Regions from separate parts of the Homo sapiens genome. Here regions 1 and 2 are each linked to region 3. Evidence: promoter capture Hi-C in human tissues and cell types (Jung and others, 2019). All regions are on one chromosome and are shown on one strand. The core of a region is centred on a gene start or on the middle of the fragment in contact, and the rest is flanking DNA. Distances in the headings are between cores, read along the strand shown.

The links. Contacts are between HindIII fragments. The study calls those that stand out against the background at their distance.
Region 1: a contact is called between a fragment that was not itself captured here and the fragment with the promoter of SRL in region 3, in 1 of the 25 tissues and cell types used here (dorsolateral prefrontal cortex).
Region 2: a fragment that was not itself captured here is called in contact with the fragment with the promoter of SRL in region 3 in 1 of the 25 tissues and cell types used here (dorsolateral prefrontal cortex).

Annotation. Positions count from the first base shown.
Region 1 is chr16:3,630,184-3,633,034 of GRCh38, forward strand. It overlaps a transcript of DNASE1 not described here. Among named protein-coding and RNA genes, the nearest start is that of SLX4, 20 kb to the left of the region's middle. The HindIII fragment of the contact is 7,090 bases long and covers 1-2,851 here.
Region 2 is chr16:3,605,017-3,607,716 of GRCh38, forward strand. It overlaps SLX4 (SLX4 structure-specific endonuclease subunit), which reads right to left. Exons shown (of 15, transcript NM_032444.4): 3 at 1,458-1,682. Among named protein-coding and RNA genes, the nearest start is that of SLX4, 5.2 kb to the right of the region's middle. The HindIII fragment of the contact is 4,547 bases long and covers 1-2,700 here.
Region 3 is chr16:4,240,654-4,243,353 of GRCh38, forward strand. SRL (sarcalumenin) reads right to left here and starts at 1,427. Exons shown (of 6, transcript NM_001098814.2): 1 at 1,354-1,427. The coding sequence starts at 1,414. The HindIII fragment of the contact is 19,223 bases long and covers 1-2,700 here.

The DNA.
Region 1 (2,851 bases), core at 1-2,500, 610 kb before region 3:
GTTGTTGTTGTTTTTGAGACGGGGTCTCACTTTGTTACCCAGACTGGAGTGCAGTTGCGTGATCACAGCTCGCTGCAGCCTCGACCTCCCAGGCTCAAAACGATCTTCCCACCTTGGCGCCCCAAGTAGCTGGGACCACAGGCACACGCCACCACACCTGGCTAATTTTTGTACTTTTTTGTAGAGACAGGTTTTCTCCATGTTGCCCAGGTTGGCCTTGAACTCCAAAGCTCAGACATCTGCCCACCTCAGTCTCCCAAAGTCTGGGATTACGGGCATGAGCCACTGTTTCTGGCTATTTCTCCCTTCAATTCTGTCAGTTTTGCTTTATATATTTTGATGGTCTGTTATTAGTTGTAATCTGTTTATAATTTTATCTTCTTGCTGTATTGAACCTTTATATAATGTCCTTTTTTAATCTTTTTTTTAAATTTAAAGTCTCTTTTGTCTTATAGTAATAGAGCCCTGCTCTCTTTTGGTTAGTGTTTGCATGGAATATGTTTTTCCATCCTTTGACTTTCAATCTAGTTGTGTCTTTGGATCTAAAGTGATTCTTTTTTGTAGTCCCAGTTACTTGGGAGGATGAGGCAGGAGGATTGCTTAAGCCCAGGAGTTCAAATCTAGCCTGAGCAACATAGAGAGACCCTGTCTCTCTAAAAATAAAAGTAAAAATAAAAAAGTAAGTTTCTTATAGATGGCATATAATTGGGTAATGTAGTTTTTTTCCACGTTGCCAATCTCTGTCTTCTGATTGGAGAGTTTAATCAATTTACACTTAGTTACTGATCAGGAAAGACTTATGTCATTTTGCTGTTTCTTTTCTATATACCTTATAGGATTTTATTTATTTATTTTTTTAGAGATGGAGTTTTGCTGTCACCCAGGCTGGAGTGCAGTGGTGCAATCTTGGCTCACTGCAACCTCCGCCTCCTGAGTTCAAGCGATTCTCCTGCCTCAGCTTCCCAAGTAGCTGGGACTACAGGCGCATGCCATCACACCCAGCTAATTTTTTGGGTTTTTTTGTTGGTTTTGTTTTTGAGACAGAGTCTTGGTCTGTTGCCCAGACTGGAGTGCAGTGGCAATCTTGACTCACTGCAACCAACCTCTGCCTCCCAGATTCAAGGAATTTTCCTGCCTCAGCCTCCCTAGTAGCTGGGACTACAAGTGCCCCCCACCACACCCAGCTAATTTTTGTATTTTTAGTAGAGAAAGGGTTTCACCATATTGGTCAGGCTGGTCTCGAACTACTAACCTCAGGTGATCCACCTGCCTCGGCCTCCCAAAGTGCTGAGATTACAGGTGTGAGCCACTGTGCCCAGCCACCTTATAGGTTTTTTTGTTTTGTTTTGTTTTTAAATTGAGACGGAGTCTCGCTCTGTTGCCCAGGCTGGAGTGCAGTGGCATGATCTCAGGTCACTGCAACCTCTACCTCCCAGGTTCAAGGGATCGTCCTGCCTCAGCCCCCTAGTAGTGGGATTATAAGCACGCACTACCATGCCCGGCTAATTTTTGTGTTTTTAGTAGAGATGGGGTTTTGCCGTGTTGGGCAGGCTGGTCTTGAACTCCTGACCTCAGGTGATCCACCCACCTCGGCCTCCCAAAGTGCTGAGATTACAGGCATGAGCCACTGTACCCGGCCATGGATTTTAAAATCTCTAATTACCTGCATTATTGTCTTCTTTTGTGTTTAGCTGGAGTTTTGTAGGTTTTCTTTTTTCTTTTTGTAGTAACATGTTTAACTATTTTCTCATTTTATTTTGTGTAACATTGTAATTTGAATTTATAGCAGCGTAATTTCAGTAACATGCAAAAATTCTGCTTCTTTATAGCTTCATCTCCACCCCTTTCAGTTGTCACAAAATTACATTATTATATACTGTGTGTCCCAAAACATAAACTCATAATTGTTTAAATGCATTAGTCTGCTAAGGCGTGTTTTATGGACCCGAATGTGATCTATCTTGGTGAATGTTCCATGTGAGCTTTAGAGGAATGTGTATCCTGCTGCTGTTGGATGAAGTGCTCTATAGATGTCAATTCTGTCTGGTTGCTTGATGGTGCTGTTGAGTTCATTATGTCCTTACTGATTTTCTGCCTGCTGGATCTGTCCACTTTGATAGATTGATGTTGAAGTTTCCAACTATAATAGTGAATTCATCTGCTTTTCCTTGCAGTTCTTAGTTTTTGCTTTGAGGATTTTGATGCTCTGTTGTTAGGCGTATACACATAAGGTTTGTTACCTCATCTTAGAGAAATACTCCTTTATAATTTTGTAATGTCCTTTTTCTATCCCTGATAATTTTCCTTGCTCTGAAGTCTGCTCTGCCTGAAATTAGTATAGCCACTGGGACTTTCTTTTTGATTCCTGCTATGTCTTTTTCCATCTCTTTAATTTTTTCTCTCTTTTTTTTTTTTTTAAAGACGAGAGTTTCACTCTTGTTGCCCAGGCTGGAGTGCAGTAGCTTGATCTCAGCTCCCTGCAACCTCCAACTCCTGGGTTCAAGCAATTCTCCTGCCTCAGCCTCCTAAGTAGCTGAGATTACAGGCATCTGCCACCATGCCTGGGTAATTTTTGTATTTTTAGTAAAGACGGGGTTTTACCATGTTGTCCAGGCTGGTCTTGAAATCCTGACCTCAGGTGATCCGCCCGCCTCAGACTCCCAAAGTGCTGGTATTACAGGAGTGAGCAACTGTGCCCAGCCTCATCTCTTTAATTGTAATCTACCTATGTTTTTATATTTAAAGTGAGTTTCCTGGGTCTTCTTTTAACATTTTTTGCAAGGTGGATTTACTGATGACAAATTCCCTTAATTTTTGTTCTTCTGAGAAAGTCTTTATTTCTGTTCATTTT
Region 2 (2,700 bases), core at 93-2,592, 640 kb before region 3:
CTCAAGCAATCCTCCCACCTCAGCCTCCCGAGTAGCTGGGACTACAGTTGTGCACCATCATGCCCAGCTAATTAAAAAAAAATTTTTTTTTGAGTCAGAGTCTTGCTCTGTTGCCCAGGCTGGAGTGCAGTGGTGCAATCTCGGCTCACTGCAAGCTCTGTCTCCCAGGTTCACGCCATTCTCCTGCCTCAGCCTCCCGAGTAGCTGGGACTACAGGCACCCACCACCATACCTTGCTAATTTTTTGTATTTTTCATAGAGATGGGGTTTCACTGTGTTAGCCAGGATGGTCTCAATCTCCTGACCTTGTGATCTGCGCACCTCGGCCTCCCAAAGTGCTGGCATTACAGGCGTGAGCCACCACGCCTGGCCCCTAAAATTTTTTTGTAGAGATGGGGGTCTCACTATGTTGTCCAGGCTGGTCTCGAACTTGTGACCTCAAGTAGTCCTCCTGCCTTGGCCTCCCAAAGTTTTGGGATTATAGGCATGAGCCATCATGCCTGGCTTCATTGTAATTAAAACAACAACAACAAAAAAACCTTTTCTGAAAGGAAGAGTTCTTTGTGAATACTGAGGGTTATCTTTTTAAAAGGAAAAAACTGAAAGGGAAAGCTTTCATAATAAAAAGTCATAATTTTTAAAAAAAGGAGGCCAGGCACAGTGGCTCACGCCTGTAATCCCAGCACTTTGGGAGGCCAAGGCGGGTGGATCACGAGGTCAGGAGATCGAGACCATCCTGGCTAACAAGGTGAAACCTTGTCTCTACTAAAAATACAAAAAATTAGCCAGGCGTGGTGGTGGGAGCCTGTAGTCCCAGCTACTCGGGAGGCTGAGGCAGGAGAATGGCGTGAACCTGGGAGGTGGAGCTTGCAGTGAGCTAATATCGTGCCACTGCACTCCAGCCTGGGTGACGGAGCGAGACTCCATCTCAAAAAAAAAAAAAAAAAAAAAAAAGGAAGAGGGCCAGGTGCAATGGTTCACGCCTGTAATCCCAGCACTTTGGGGAGCTGAGGTAGGCAGATCACTTGAGGTCAGGAGTTCGAGACCAGCCTGGCCAACTTGGCGAAACCCTGTCTCTACTAAAAATACAAAAATTGGCCAGGTGTGGTGGCACACGTCTGTAATCCCACTGGCTGGGGCAAGATAATTGCTTGAACCTGGGAGGCGGAGGTTGCAGTGAGCTGAGATCATGTCACTGCACTCCAGCCTGGGTGACAGAGCAAGGCTCTGTCTCAGAAAAAAAAACAAAACGGTACCTTATCAAGGAAGCTAGGTGGGAAATGATCCCAGAGACTCTTCATTCTCTGGCTGGATCCAGTGAAGTGGCAAAGGTAAAACATCAAGCAGAGAGCCTATCCACAGAAGAAACTCAACAAATGCTGATTCCTTCCCGCCTCCCTTCCTCAGAGTTGTATTAACTTATCTCTGTGTGGAAGACAGAAACACACTCATCATACCATTCCCCGCCATCATCTCCTCTTGAGGATCCTTTGGGACATTTTCTTCCCGCGCAGCCTCGAGGGAGCACTCTTCTGAAGCGTGTCTCAAACGCTCGGGGTCTGCTCTCTTGAACTGCTGCATTCGCTGTAGGACCAATTGTGCTGTGCGGGGTTTGGAGGGACTTGGCACTGCTGTTGTCAAACAGGAAGGAGGAGGCTGGGAGTCGCTGTTGGGCACATTCTCTGGCAAGGAGGAAAATATTCACAACCATCTGTTGTAGCTGGAGAAATAAAAGACTTTTCTACCAGATACAGGTTAGACGCAAGTTTCAAGAGTCCTTTATCAACTAGTTTAGGTTTGACTCACAAATGTGAAGAGGACTGGTTGCTTGTTGGTAACCTCTTTGTTTATGGCAATATAGACATAAATATCAATAACAGGAGGGGAATGGGATGTGACTGCTAATGAGCATGGGGTTTATTTTTAGGATGATAAAACTGTTCTAACGTTAGGTAGTGGTGGTGGTTGGACAAGTCTGTGAATATACTAAAAACCACTGAACCATACCCTTTTAAATGGTGAATTTTATGGAATATCAATTATACCCCAATAAAGCTATTATTAAAGAAATATTAATGACAAAGGTTTATGTCCTAGATCAGTTCTTCTTTAACTTGGGATCCACGGATGATCTTCAGTGGGGATCCATGAACCCCATGAAGTTGTGTGCCAGTTTTGCAGATACGCGCATGGATACGTGTTTTGGGGGAACCATGCATAGATTTCATCCGACTGGCAAAGAGCACGAGAGACCAGTAAAGTTGGTGAGGCAACACTGCTGATGCCTTCCAGTAGTCTATGCGACCTGAGACTCTACCACCACTCTACTGAGAGGTTATTAAGATCAGGAAGTGAGGGCAAAGGAAATTTAGAAACAGAACTCAGGAGCTCAGAGAGCCCATGGTGTATTATATATGCAAGGGTAGTTTTCAGTTTTGCATGAAGAATGTGTAGTAAGCATATAGCTCAGTATACCAAGGGCAGCAGGGCAAGAAAACTGCTTTAAACAGTTAAAAAATTATCCAGGCACGGTGGTGGGTGCCTGTGGTCCCAGCTACTCGGGAGGCTGAGGCAGGGAGGACTGCTTGAACCTGGGAGGTCAAGGCTGCAGTAAGCTATGATAGCACCACTGCACTCCAGCCTGGGTGAGAGACCAAGATCCTGTCTCTAAAAACTAAGTAAGTAAATAAATCAATAACA
Region 3 (2,700 bases), core at 177-2,676:
AGTTCCCTCGGTGGGAGGAAAGATAAAGGATGTCCCTAAAAGGCCAAAAATTCCTGGGGCCCAGTGTGTAGCAGCCCAGCAGCTGGGGCTGGGGGGCAGCACAGGAGCGGCCACGAAGGGAGAGGGTGGCAGCGGCTTGGGGCTCCGGATCCAATTACGCGGCTGTTTCCATACTTAGCCGCCTGACAGCCGCCTGGAATACTCAGCACTCAAGCCGCTGCAGCCCTGCAGAGCCCAAATTAACTCAAGGACAGACAAGGGCAGGGCCCAGCAGCACATGCAGTGGCTGGAGCCCCCCACCTTACATCTTGAGTCCCCGAGAAATAGCTTTTGTTCCCACCCACTGCCTGCTCTCCCTGCAGGGACTGTGCCCCTGCAACCCCCTATTCAACCTCAAAGACCTGAGAGGCTGGACTCTGGGCCTCTCCAGTCCCAGGTACGGACCTAGGCTCAGAGCCCAGCTTGGGGGAAGACTGCCGAGTCATGAAAAGACTCGGTGGGCAGTCCGGATCCTAGGGGGATCCCCGGAGCACCTCCCTAAAAGCATTCCCTCGGGGAACCTGGCCTCAGGAACCTTAGGAACAAGAGAGGTGGCAAAACAATCTGGCATCTCCTCCATAGCCTATAGATAACCCCCATGCTGCAACCCAAGCCACCACCTCTGCTACCCAAAGTGCTGAGATGTCAAAGGGAAGCCTCAGCACACAGAGCCAAGCCCCTTTTCTGATGGAAGCCCCCACCCCGAGCAGAGGCTCTACTCCAGAACGGGCCCCGTTCCTCTTCTGAATTGCATCCAATGCTGTTTCCAGCCCAACCGCCAACTCTATTTCCGATCTTATCCCAAACCAATTCCAATTCTATCTCACTGCTCCCAAAACGGTCCCCACCTTTGCCCACTGTATCCCCTTCTGTCCACGCAAACCCAGTTCTCTTACCCGAGTGGGGCCTCCGCCTTATATCCCACCAGGTGGGAGGGTCACCTCAACGACCTCCAGCTCCCAGACTGTGCTATTTTGTCCGTCTCAGAGGCTCCCCCGTCTCGACTTTGAGGGCCCTCTTTCCCACATCTACTGGCCAGACTCCTCTCTGACCCTGGCTCACAGCTCAGCTCTGTTTGCCGTTCCCACTTCCTCTGGCCTTCCTGAGGGCCCCGCAACTGTGCTGCTATTCTCCAGCACCCAGCTCTTTCTCTGAGGCCCCAGGCCCGGGGAAAAGAGAAGGGTAAGAAGACACCAGCCAAGAGCCAGGGTTTGCCATCAGCCCCGACCCCCTACCCAACCCATGGTAGACAGAAAACCTTGGAGGAAGCGTGGGGGACCAGTCTGGGCTGGGTCATGCTGGGAGGGGCCCTACCTGCTTGTCCTGAGAACAGGAGCGAGGCCAGGAGGCAGCCGAGCAGGACCAGCGCCCTCATGGTGACTGCCAAGAGAGCCCAGCTGCTCCTCGCCTCTATTTATACGGCCGGCCGTGGCAGCAGGCGGTGGAGGGGGGAGAGGGGTCACACAGTCACCAGGGCAACTAGGAGGGTGTGATGGGGAAGAAGCCCGGACCCCAGAAGGCTGTGCAGAGGCTCAGGCTGCGCCACTGCTGTCCCAGCTGCCAGGCCCCAGAAGGCAGGGCCGTGGCTGGATTCTCTTCCCCCGAACCCCTGCAGCCCTGGGATCACATGACATGGGTCACAGGGCGTGGGTGACAGGCATAAAATGGAGCATCCCTTGGGCTCAGGCGGTGGAGCTGGGAAGCTGAGTCTTCCCAGAACTTGCAATAACTTGACCTGAAGTCTCGGCAGGTTAAGGACCTTGACACGCCTGCACTGGAAGGAGGAAGTTGTAAGGCCACGCAAAAGAAATCCTATTTAACAGCCACTGATCCACATGCTAGAGAGTGGTCAGCTACGGCAAACCCGCAACATGTGACCTCTGAGGTCCAAGGCTGCAGCCCTGGAACAACCTTCCCAGCCTCTGGAAGAGAGAGAGCACAGACCAGAGGGAGAGGGGCACACTGAGACACAAGCTGAGGCTACGGTGTAAACTGGAGGATGGAGCAACAGATATCCATTTCCAATGGCCCAGGGGTTCCAGAACATTCAGTCACCTCTGCAAAGTGCTTTTTTGTTTATTTGTTTTTGATAGAGGATCTCGCTCTGTCACCCAGGCTGGACTGCAGTGGCACAATCATCACTCACTGCACTCGACCTCCCAGGCTCAATCAATCCTCCCAACTCAGCCTCCCAAGTAGCTAGGACAGTAGTGCCACCATGCTGTACTAATTTTTTAAAATTTTTTGTAGATGGCCCAGAGAGCCAGTTGTAAGAAGCCAAGGGAAAGCAGACACTTGCTTGTCTGGTCGGGGTACAGTGTCACTGTGTGGGGAAGAGGTAGAAGCCAGCCTTGGAGGAAAGGAACTAAATCAGGGCCAGGCACAGTGGCTCACACCTGTAATCCCAGCACTTTGGGAGGCCGAGGCGGGTGGATCACCTGAGGTCAGGAGATTGAGACCAGCCTGGCCAACATGGTGAAACCCCATCTCCACTAAAAATACAAAAATTACTGGGTGTGGTGGCGGGTGCCTATAATCCCAGCTCCTCAGGAGGCTGAGGCAGGAGAATCACTTGATCCCAGGAGGCGAAGGTTGCCATGAGCCAAGATTGCACCACTGACTCTAGCCTGGGCAACAGAGCGAGACTCTGTCTCAAAAAAA